Linked DNA regions of Homo sapiens: region 2 is linked to region 1. The links are contacts of gene promoters, found by promoter capture Hi-C in blood cells and fetal thymus (Javierre and others, 2016). All regions are on one chromosome and are shown on one strand. The core of a region is centred on a gene start or on the middle of the fragment in contact, and the rest is flanking DNA. Distances in the headings are between cores, read along the strand shown.

The links. Contacts are between HindIII fragments. The CHiCAGO score rates a contact against its expected background, and 5 or more counts as called.
Region 2: a fragment that was not itself captured here is called in contact with the fragment with the promoter of LINCMD1 in region 1 in 6 of 17 cell types (naive CD8 T cells, total CD4 T cells, total CD8 T cells and 3 more); the score reaches 6.6 in naive CD8 T cells.

What each region holds. Positions count from the first base shown.
Region 1 is chr6:52,148,568-52,154,958 of GRCh38, reverse strand. It overlaps LINCMD1 (long intergenic non-protein coding RNA, muscle differentiation 1), which reads left to right and starts at 3,936. Exons shown (of 3, transcript NR_131248.1): 1 at 3,936-4,077. MIR133B (microRNA 133b) reads right to left here and starts at 6,036; the gene lies at 5,918-6,036. RefSeq lists an enhancer at 1,814-2,108. The HindIII fragment of the contact is 4,773 bases long and covers 3,525-6,391 here.
Region 2 is chr6:52,681,046-52,686,976 of GRCh38, reverse strand. TMEM14A (transmembrane protein 14A) reads right to left here. Exons shown (of 5, transcript NM_014051.4): 3 at 5,063-5,164; 4 at 2,812-2,899; 5 at 389-967. The coding sequence ends at 928. Among named protein-coding and RNA genes, the nearest start is that of TMEM14A, 13 kb to the right of the region's middle. The HindIII fragment of the contact is 2,362 bases long and covers 621-2,982 here.

The DNA.
Region 1 (6,391 bases), core at 2,687-5,186:
TGTATCTTGGAAGTGTGGTTTCATAAGTGTAATTCCTGTTTATAATACTTTTTTCTATTAAGAGAACAATAATTCCTGATATTTTGGTTGAAAACTCTAAGTACCTGAGACCCACTTATTGGCCTTCTATGAAGAAAGAACTGAAAATTATTTTGGGGTGGATGAAAATGCAGCTATTCTTAGTTTCCCCAGAGGAAAATTCAAGAGGAAATGGGTTTACACAGCAGTAGGGGGGGGTTTATGTGGGGCATAAAGGAGCGTGTTCAGGACAAGGTTCTGTCAAGAATGTGCATGGAGCATGTTTCCTTGGCATACAGGATGGTCAGAGCAGGGACCACACGGGGTCTTGGATGACATAGTGTCTAAGGTGACCCCACCGACCCTTCCCCCAGCTCTCCCTGTCTGTAGGGATTTAGGGGGACACTGAATGGTGATTTAGTGAATGGTGAGTTAGGGTAAAACTCAGCCTTGTTTTTGAAAGAGCCATTAGGTGAAGGAATGGCCAGATGTACAGCAAGGATGGTGAGATCTGATTCACAGCAGGCTGCCAAACTTCATCTGCCATAGTGACCTGTGTTCTCTCCTTACATATTTTTATTGTTTTAAATTTGGATAGCCCTGACAGTTGGAAATTGGGAGTGGGGCAGGGGATTACTATTTTACATTATAAGCTTTAAAAATTTAAACCTTGTACATGTATAGCTTTGGGAAAAATAAAAAGACATAAAAATAAAAAATCTCTGTGGCTTACTTTTTGTTACAAGTAATACATGCTAGCTGGGAAAAATTTAGAAAATTCAGAGAGGCCGTCCTCCAAAAATCCATTGTCTAGAAATATTTACTCTTGGACCTTTGGTCTAGATTCTTCCATATTTTTCTTAACATATACATACATGTATTTTTCTTAAAAACAGAAATGGATTGTGTTAGTTTCCCTTTGTGAGTTAACAATATGTCTCCAGAGTGTCAAAGGGTATATATTTGATGCTATATGAGTTAGGGCACTTTTGTTTGCAAATGATGTAATTTCAGTGTTAAGTGCCTTAGGTAAAAAGGAATACAGAATATAGGAACTGGGCCTTGGGAACAACCACGTCCAGGACTGAAATACCTCTGGGGCTCTGTATCTGTTCTCTCTTTGGTTTCTTTTTAAGTAATTGGTTCATTCTTATCTCTTACTAAGCACTACTGAGAAATACTGGGAATAATTTTGAAGCTTCACATCTTTCTATTTTAACTTTCCAAGGAAACACAGCTTTAATTTTTATAGACCAATAATCCAAACTCCCATGAAAGGGCTCACTAGGATGGCTTAAGTTAGAGAAAGGTGCATGGTTGTAAAGGTTCTTGGGGAAGCATGGTGAATGGAGGGAGGGAGAGGTAATTTTAAGAATAGCCAAGGGGGCTGGGTGCAGTGGCTCACGCCTGTAATCCCAGGACTTTGGGAGGGCAAGACGGGTGGATCATGAGGTCAAGAGATTGAGACAATCCTGGCCAACATAGTGAAACCCCGTCTCTACTAAAAATACAAAAATTAGCCAGGCGTGGTGGTGGGTGCTTGTAGTCCCAGCTACTTGGGAGGCTGAGGCAGGAGAATCACTTGAACCCAGGAGGCAGAGGTTGCAGTGAACTGAGATTGCACCACTGCGCTCCAGCCTGGCAATGGAGCAAGACTCCATCTCAAAAAAAAAAAAAAAAAAAAAAGAATAGCCAAGGGAGGGAGACTGAGCTGTTAACAGAGAAAGAGAAGATTCTGGGCAGAGAAGATAATAGCCTTCTTGATGCCTATGTATTGATAAATGATGCTTTGAAGAGTATAGACCTATATTCACTCCCAGCTATGTATGAGCTGCTGTTTTCTAACAGTCTTGCCAGCCCTGGGAATTACCATCAGAAAGAAACTCGTTGATGGACTGCACTAATGGGATTTTCTTGTTTGTCTGGATTCCTGCCAGTTAGATAGCCCCGCACTATTTTCCGTCAACTCCTTCCGGGGAAGAGCTCCTTCAGCACGCCTGTGCTATCACTTTCTTCCTCCCAACACTCACCAGATGTGGGGGTGGGGTCCATTCTGAGGGTGACCAAGAGTCGTCATGTTTGACCGGTGTGACATCATGGGCTGCCACTTACTGGCACAGGACTGATGATGATACAGGAACACACATAAAGGGACACAGCAGCAATCACAAAACCACACACCCCACTGGGTGGCCTAACCTAGATTTCTGCCCTGAAGAGGGGCTGTGGCAGGATGAGCAACCGCAACCCGTGGGCAGCAGTCCCCATTCTCTGATTCCTCTTGATTTCTTACGGAAATGGAGAGTTTGGGCTTGTGGGACCTTTGAACATGGATATCAAGGTCATTCAAACTTACCAGAAAACATGTTTTCTTAAAGGTTCTGTCTTTTTATAGTGGTGAGTGGGAGCAGGAATACATTTGCTCCCCTCCTGGTTTAAGGAAAATCAAACAGAAATGTGAATGGAAGTTGAATTCTCCAGGAGTGAATAAGAGGGGACAGTACGATATTTTGACTTTGGAGGCAGGCTATGACTAGAACTCCTTCCATCCTGTGGCCCTCAAAGATGTGTTCTGCAAAGACCCTTGAGGGCAAGGGGATAGGTAGAAAGTTGGATGACAATGTTCACTCATGTTCTCCAACCCTTGCCAGAAGTGTGCTAGCTTGCTCCCCTTCCCTCTCCTCCCCTCCTCTCCTTTTCTTTTTCTTTATTCCTTTCTCTCTCCTTCCTTCCTTTCCTTTACCTTCTTTCTCTCCCTCCCTCCCTCTCTCCCTTCTTAACTTCCTTCCTTCCTTCCCTCCCTCTCTCACTCCTTCCCTCCCTCTCTACCTCCCTCCCTCTTCTTTCCTTCTTTTTTTTTCTTTTGTTTTTGAGACAGGGTCTCACTCTGTCACCCAGGCTGGAGTGCAGTGGTGCCATCGCAGCTCACTGCAGCCTCAATCAAACTCCTGGGCTCAAGCGATCCTCCCACCTCAGCGTCCCCATCCCTGTGCCCAGCTAATTTTTGGTATTTTTTGTAGAGATGGAGTTTTGCTCAGGCTGGTCTTGAACTCCTGAGCTCAAGAGATCCGCCAGCGTTGGCCTCCCAAAGTGCTGGGATTTATAGACAAGAACCCTCATGCCTGGCCTGGCTGGCTTCTTTCTAACAGAGAGAAGACATTATTTAGTCTTAGCCTTATATGTCTTGTCCAGTTTTATCAGGCATTTTAGCCATAATATCCCAAATATGAAAGTGACCCTTTTTTAACACTCCTTTTACCTATACCTGGCATTGTTATCTAATCTTTACCTACATGACCTCTGCCCTTCCAGATGGAAAAGATCCCTCCTGTTAAGGACAGCTGGTATTTGGCCACATCATGTTTGTTTTCTGTTCTGCCAGGTGACTTCCGGGTGACAGCTCTGCGACTGCGCTTCAAGATCACCCTGCTTCTACTCCCAGAGGCATACCCCTAGTTCGCAGGGAAGTTCCATTTCATCACAGACCTGGGAAGCAGAGAGAAGCTTGTTGCCATCCTTCCCCCACACCTTACTACTGCTTTGAACCAGTGTGCTGCATTGAAAGAGATAAGTAGAAATAGTTGAACCAAAAATTACATGATCCCATAGTTTGTGCTTAAAATAAACAAAGAAGCTGATCTTTCAGTGAACATGTTTTTATTGAACACCAACTTAATTTCAGGAACATTTCAGGTACATTGTCAGAAATAAAGACTCTTAAGAATGTATTATTATGTACCCAATACTGGTTTCAGGCCTTTACATGTATTCTCATGAAACTCTATGAAGTAGATATTATTATCAATATTCCTACTTTACAGATGAGGAAACCCAGGCCTGGAGAGGTCAAGCAACTTGCTCAAGTGGCACAGCTGGAGAGTGGGGAGCTGGGACTTGAGCCCAGGTAGTGTGTCCCCAGCACCTTCAACTAAACTCCATTCTGTGCTGCCCTTTGGAACACCCACTCAATGGCCTTCACACTCCATGTCCTACTTGGGAGGACATGTGATCTCAACAGCACTCACAAATGAAGGCTTTCCAGACAGGATATTGAAGATGGTAAGATCAGTCTCATGTATAAAGCATTTTTTAAAAGTAAAGCATATTATATGCTAGTCATATGTACTAGGGTGAATGCATGTATGCTACATGCTAGTAGAATTAATAGTTGGAATATAAAAATACCCTATAGGCTGGGCACGGTGGCTCACATTTGTAATCCCAGCACTTTGGGAGGCCAAGGCGGGCGGATCACTTGAGGTCAGGAGTTCAAGACCAGCCTGGCCAACATGGTGAAACCCTGTCTCTACTAAAAATATAAAACTTAGTCGGGTGGTAGTGGTGCGTGCCTGTAATCTCAGCTGCTTGGGAGGCTGAGGCAGGAGAATCGCTTGAGCCTGGGAGGCGGAGGTTGCAGTGAGCTGAAATCGTGCCACTGCACTCCTATCTGGGCAACAGAGTGAGACCCTGTCTCAAAAAATAAACAAAAACAAAAACAAAACAACAACAACAAAAAACAAAACCCTACAGTGAGCAATGAGCCTTTATGTATTTTTTGAGTTCTTCTCCTATTTTTTTTTTAATTTGGCTCTTTCCTTCTACATACAAGTGCCTGTGGACACAGCATTGTCCTTGTGCTGTTGCCATTTACAGCAGTAAAACAACAGCTACTATTTCTTAAGGGCTTATATTTGGCTCTTTATTAACACTGTCTGTTTTAAGCCTTACGGTAACTGAGGTTGGTATCATTGTCCCCATTTTACAGATGAGTAAACTAAGGCTTGTGCAATGTTAATTGAGCTGCGGAGAGGATATATCACAGCTAATAAATTAGAGGGGCAGCATTCAACCCCAGGTCTTCCTGAATGCAAAGATTTGTGCTAGTAAGCTCTGTGTTCTCCTCTGAGGTCACTGTGGTGGGCTCTAGGCACTTATGCTACCCCATTTGTGTCAGAATACAGCATGTGAACACACATGTCTATAGAATTTTAAACCCAAATATTTACTTATTACTGTCTAAGTTCCAGACACACACCATAAAAGATACAAATCTTAAAAGATAAACTGGAAGGACAGGTCAGAATTCTCCCTTAGTAAAAGGTAGCGATTATGAGAACTTAGCTCATTACAGCCTCCATCTCCTGGACTTAAGTGATCTTCCTGCCTCAGCCTCCCAAGTAGCTAGGACTATAGGTGTGCACTACCGCATTCAGCTAATTAAAACAAAAAAAATTTTTTTTTGGTAGAAACAGCATCTTGCTATGTTGACCAGGCTGATCTGGAACTCCTGGCCTCAAGCAATCCCCTGTCTTAGCCACCCCAAATGCTGAGATTTTAGGCATAAGCCACTGTGCCTGGTGTGACAGGTACTATTATCCCTATTCTACAGATCAGGGAACTGAGAAATGATTGCTTAGTGAATAGATATCTTGGGCTGAATAGATCAATAGAGACTTGATGATACATAATGTGCTAGGCATATTTGGTGGGATAGGTAAGAATTATGCCTTGGAACTAGCCATGCTATAACTTGCAATTCAATTGGATCACACCATATATACATGTCTAATTTCTTTCCTTAGACTGTTAGCCCCTAGTGAGCAGGAGCCCTGTCTTCTATGTCTCATGCTCTTCCCCTGGCTGGCTTAGGGTTGGCACAAACTCCATCCTCAAACTCTTTCTTGACTGTGTGTCTGTCAAAAGCATGTAAGTGGCTGCAGCTGTGAGTGCAAAGGCACAGAACAGTGTGTGTTGAGCATTAAAATCTTGCTCACTTTTGACTCCAGGACTCCTCTTCTCTTCCTTCCTGGGAGCATAAGAATATGGTGAAAAAACCAGAATTGTTTTCTCAAGGAAAGTTTTAGTAGGTAATTTCAGTTGCAGTTGAATCTCTTCTGTTTCTCCAAGGACTGGGCATTGCCAGCCCTGCTGTAGCTGGTTGAAGGGGACCAAACCTCTCAGGAAGACGGACTTGGTTCCGTTTGACCAGCCAGAGCAGGGGGCATCTTTCTTCTGAGGTGACTGCAGCCTCTAGTGTGCAGGTATCTTGGTGTGTCTCAAGCATCATTTGTCTAAGCCTGTAATGCAAAAAGAAGCAGCATTAGCATCTGTCAAATGCCAGGAGCTTGCCTTGTCCAGAATGTCCTCTTACATGATTTGTACATACATCTCATACAATTTGTACATACAAATCATACATAATTTGTATTTCATGTTGCATGACTTCAATTTATTTTTTCTTTAATCTTTAATCTTTTTTCAAATAGAAACATCATGAAGATCAAATATGCTATAGAATTATAGAATATGAAAAATGACAGTATGCCATAATGCTTCCTCTTCCCATTTTCCGAAAGAAATGTAACATTTTGGC
Region 2 (5,931 bases), core at 552-3,051, 530 kb before region 1:
AGAGCTCTAAAGGGTTGATCATTTAGTTCAATTCCTCCTTAAGAATGAGAAACTGAGTCAGAGGAAAAGGAAATGACCTTCCAAAGAGCATCAAGTGGGTGGAAGAATTGGGCTGGGATTCAGGTCTCCCGATGTTCAATTTGGGCCCTAAAAGTGCCTTGGACATTAAAAGTTATAACTATGCCTAAAAATAAAGTGGTAATTTGAAACAAAATCAGTTTGTTTCAGAATCGTTACTCTTTCAGAGAGAAAAAATATCTACGCCTCAGGAAGTAGAATGTTGGCTTAAATAAACCCTCCTTCTCAACCCTTTTCGTTAATAATTGAATATTTAAATGTCAAAGATGATTTGAGTATTCAGAGGAAAAACTGACATGAAAGAAACAGGTTTGAACCAAAATGTCTTTTATTTGAATACTGAATACATTCAGTTAGGACATAACAGTGTGCTAAGAATAAAATTTTTTAAAGAAAAAAATAGCACTGGCAGCAATACAATTAAAATGGAAAAAGCATAATTTCTAATAATTTCAAATATAACACAAATGACAAATAGATACATTATCATTCTGTGAACTCCACTTAAGACTTCCTTTATGTGACAAGTTGTAGTTTAAGCTTACTTGAGACATGAGTATTTGGAATTTTCAAAAAATACCAAATATATAAAAAATAGACACAACAAATGGAAGAGTATATCATGATTCATTAGACACTTTTAATGAAAATAGTGCTTGACAATTAGAAAACAGTTAAAATTTTTGCTTTAGAAAAAAACTACCTCAAACTAATGTTCATATTAGAGGTGACAGTGCTATTTGTGTTTCTAGCATTCCATATTGAAGTTTATCTTTTAAATACAAAAAAAATATGCTCTGCCCATTACAGCAGGATGACATGAACTTAGTTTTCTGTTCCTCCAGATGCTCAGAGCAGCAACAAGACAAGTCTCAGGATCATCATGAGGCTGGATTTAAAATAAAACAAAGACAAAGGGAGAGTCACTTTTATCTGGCATAAGACAGAAAGGGCCATGCACTCGCCTACCCAGTAGTGTTACTAATCCTTGGCTTGGGGGCTCTCCCAGCTCAACCCCTTGGAGGATTAAAACATCCCAGACATAACTGAATTAGCCACTTTAAAATGTTCGCTAAATGAATAAGGAAAAATCAGAACCTGTTGTTCTGAAAACCTTGGATGAGGGTTTATAAGAGAAAGGTTTGGGAAGAAACAAACTTTCAGAAGCTAGTAAAATAAAGCAACTTGAAAAAATAATCGAGGACCAACTTGGGGCAGTTACTAATTCAATCTCAGCTACTTTCTATTAACTGAGGCCTTCTTCCGGATCCATAAACCCTACTTCATTTTTTCTTCCTTTTTTTTTTCTTTTTTCTGATGGAGTCTCACTCTGTCACCCAGGCTGGAGTATAGTGACGCAGTCTCGGCTCACTGCAACCTCCACCTCCTGAGCTCAAGCAATTCTCCTGCCTCAGCCTCCCAAGTAGCTGGGATTACAGGTGCCCGCCACCACACTTGGCTAATTTTTGTAGAGATGGGGTTTTGCCATGTTGGCTAGGCTGGTCTTGAACTCCTGACCTCAAGTGATCCACCCGCCAAAGCCTTCCAAAGTGCTGGGATTACAGGCATGAGCCACCGCACCCAGCCCATAAACCCTACTTCTGATTCTTCCCACCACCAAGTATCACTTTTAGAACAGGGCTATAACTGGAAAGCTGTCTTTTGTAATCACACTCCTCCTCCCCTCCCTGAAACATAATACATAGTCACACTAGAAAATTCTACACAAAAGTAGAAAGAGGAACATTACAATTATTCATCACACTATCACCCACAGAAAAACACTAACAGCTTGAAATATTTCCTTCCTGTTTTTTTATACACAAACTTTTTTTAATCACACTATATGTGGTTGTTTTCATCCTGTTTTTATACCTTATTATGTCACTAAGATTTTCCAATGCCACCAAATCATTTTTGAAAACATAAAAATGTAATGCTCATTCAATATTCCATTAAATGGACAAAACATTTTTTCAAACATCTCCTTACTGGTGAACTGTTAGGTTGTTCCTAATTTTTCAGTCTATTGTGTTTTCACTAGAAATAAAGTTGCAATGAACATCAGTCTTTGTGCATATCTCACTGCTTTGGAATAAATTCCAAAAAGTGAAAATGTCTATCAAAGGAAATAAACATGTTTATGGCTTTCAACATATAAAGCCAGCTTTCTGGAGAAATTTTTAAAATGTTATCTCTAAATTTTTATTTGGTAATATGCTTAATCTCATGGATAGAATTACTGGATCAAATTAAGAGAAACTTGAGGCCCTCTGTTTATCTTTTAAAAAATATTAAAACTTCTCTCTTAAAAACTCTTAAAAATATTAAATTTCTGTCCCTTAAAAACTTGAAATAACTGTATCACACTGTCACTCTGTCAAACTCTCTAAAAGGGACTGAGTATTAGATTTAAATGAACACATTTAGTGTTGCAGATGGGTGAATCTTGAGGAAAAATGAGGCTGAGTTTAGTTAGCTCTTTCTTCTGAAAAAGGCAAGTATGCCTATGTGACCAGATACTACAGCAACACTATGCGTATCCAATAAGAATGTTCATGGGTACATCAATATCAAAGACCCACTGAATCCATGCTATCTTAAGGTTTTTACTGTCATGCTTATTATAACAAAAAGGACTTTGATCTTTCAAATTAAAATTGATGTTTCCCAAAAATTCAGCACTTCAAAACAACAGCAGAGGAAAGTATTGATCAAAATAGTTTTACTTACCTTAAACCTGCAACCAAACCAGCAGGCATTATTTTCTTGGACCTCTTAAATCTCACACCCATTATGGTAGCCAGGAAGAAAGCTGTAACTGAAAACCAAACTAATTCATGAACCAGAGTTTCAAACATGTTATCAATGCTTGTGGGAAAACAGCGGGTACCATTTAAAGCTTTCTAACATTACAACTATTATGGATAGGTACTGAGTTGCCATTGTCTTGAAAAGATAAAGTGCTCTATTAAAACACTTCATGGCCGGGCCAGTGGCTTACGCCTATAATCCCAGCACTTTGGGAGGCAGAGATGGGTGGATCACCTGATGTTGGGAGTTTGAGGCCAGTCTGACCAACATGGAGAAACCTCGTCTCTACTAAAAATACAAAAAAAATTAGCAGGGCATGGTGGCACATGCCTGTAATCCCAGCTACTCGGGAGGCTGAGGCAGGAGAATTGCTTGAACCGGGGAGGCAGAGGTTGTGGTGAACTGAGATCACGCCACTGCACTCCAGACTGAGCAACAAGAGCGAACTCTGTCTCAAAAAAACAACAAAAGAACAAACAAAGAAACACTTCATCATCATCTACCTCGCCGAAAAGGTTTCTGGGTAAACAAACATGTTAAAATCCATTCCTGAAATATCTTCAAAAGAGAAAGACCTTTTCTTTTTCTTTTTTTTTTTTTTGTTGTTGTTGTTGTTGTTGTTGTTGAGACAGAGTCTTGCTCTGTCACCCAGGCTGGAGTACAGTGGCGTGATCTCAGCTCACTGCAACCTCCACCTCCCGGGTTCAAGCAATTCTCCTGCCTCAGCCTCCCGAGTAGCTGAGATTACAGCCATGTACAACCACATCCAGCTAATTTTTGTACTTTTAGTAGAGACAGGGTCTTGCTATGTTGGCCAGGCTGGTCTTGAACTCCTGGCCTCAAGTGATCCACCGGCCTCAGCCTCCAAAAGTGCTGAGATTACAGGCATGAGCCACCATGCCTAGCTAAGAAAGTCTTTTTCTAACCTAAATTTCTATTCAAAGAACACGCCTTGAAGGCTAGCACTGAGCTTTATTCAACTTCCCTCAGAAACACTAAGTAGCACACTTGGACCCACAGGAGACACTCATTAATGTTCAGTTAACTGAATATAAAGAAAATAGTTAATGTATCTTTTACAAGTAAGATCTGATTAATAAAAAAAAAATACTAAAAAGAAGGCTGATTGGTTTTGTTTTGTAGCATCCCATTTTGGAGAATTTGATGCCTGGAGACTAAATAATAGTCTAAGCAATAGTATTTTATTCAGAAGCATCATGTCAGCCTTTTTGGAGCTGTATCTATGAAGGGAGAGGTAGTTTTATGTAAGAGATTAGGACATCAATGCCACAATTTAAAAACAGCTTTCAAAGAAAAACTGTTTATTGATATAAAAAATAAAATGACTGACAATAAATACTTGTGAACTATTTAAATGCATATCAATAAAAATCCTAATATCACTACATCTGGCTGATACATCTAACACAACCTCATTACTAAAAATATCCCTAGCCCCTTATAAAAATAACTAAAAAAAAAAAAAAACCCCAAATCTCTCACTCTCCTTCAAATATAGAACAATTTTGTCTTCATTTATATTTTTTTCCATACACGACCAAGGCACTTTGAATAATAAATCAACTAGAGAAAATGTCCTTGGTATGGTTTTCTAAATCTTCACTGTGTATCTCTTTCAAGTGAGATGAAAGTCAAGTGTCCTGGTGACTTTAAACACACAGGTTTCCATTTTTTCTGTGGATATTCTCCCATTAAACTTAACAAGGGAAGTAGCTAAAAAAGCGTCAGCCTTGCTTTTTTAGGTTAAGTCTTAAGGCAGTGCAGAATCTAAAAGATGTTTGTGAATTAAATGAAATAATGCAAGGCTGTCTCTTTTTTAGTTATTTCCACAGCAATGTAAAAACTATGCTAAATATGCATTTAGGAGAGTTAGCAGAAAATCTGAAAATAATTCCTTGCTTTTCCTAATTCAATTTTTCTAGTAACGAGTTTTTATAGAAATATTCTTCTGAGTTGGAAGGCCTGGTAGCAGTACCATCATTTTTTATCAGGTCTTTCTAGAAAGGAATAAGTGTTGTATTCAGCCTCAACACATGCATATGGCCATTTGCCATTTGACTAAATATGTTCTAGTATATCTAGCATAGGGTATCAAAAAGATCACCTCCAATGTTTGAGTCTCTGTAACCAGGAAAAATGCCTTACTTACACAGTGACACTTTTACATCTCGTTTGTCATTGGAGACACGGTAAGCTCCATAGCCGGCCAAACATCCAACAAAAAGACCAGCAATCAAAGACGGAACACCACCTGGAAGGGGAAAAAAATATGAGATCACAAAGAGAATCCCAAAAGGAAAGGAATTCATTCCATTACTTCTAGTATGATACAGGCACCTTCAAATGTATTCCTACTTGGGCACAGTAACTGGACAAAGCCAAATTAAGAATAGGCCTCTTCATGGATACTTTCTAGGAGATGACTGTTTCCTGCTGAACCCAAATGCAAGGCAGAGGAGCCCTGAGGGCACAGCAGTGCAGTGGGGTTAGATGTCACTTGGGGAAATAAGAAAACCTGCCTTGTTCTGGTGGCTTGGACACTGATTACATGATCTTGGACAATTATTTAACTTCCTTAAGCCCTTCTTTTTTAATTTTTCCTATTCTCTTTGCCTCCTTTTTGCAATGAGGTTGTGATGATAAAAACTAAGATGCAAAGGTAGTTTTAGTTTATAGAGGTAAAGACAGAAGTGCTATACAAACCAAGCAATGGTTCCATCCTGAATAATTAACAAACCTTCATGCCTCAAGATGTCAGGACTCAAGGACTAATAGAGGCCCTACCAAGAAAGACGAAGAATCAGAATACTGACCCCAGCTACCCAGTCCCTATCCCATGCACTCACCCCACCAGTACACTCCCAGCCCCCAACCCACATACCCACCCCAGAGCACTGTGGCAAACACCAAGCACTTTCTGTGCACTGGACAGTGGGTTACATGGCAGTGACACTATGAATAAGACACACACAATCCTTGCTTCATGGAACTCACCCTATTTAGAATCTGTTAGGTTAA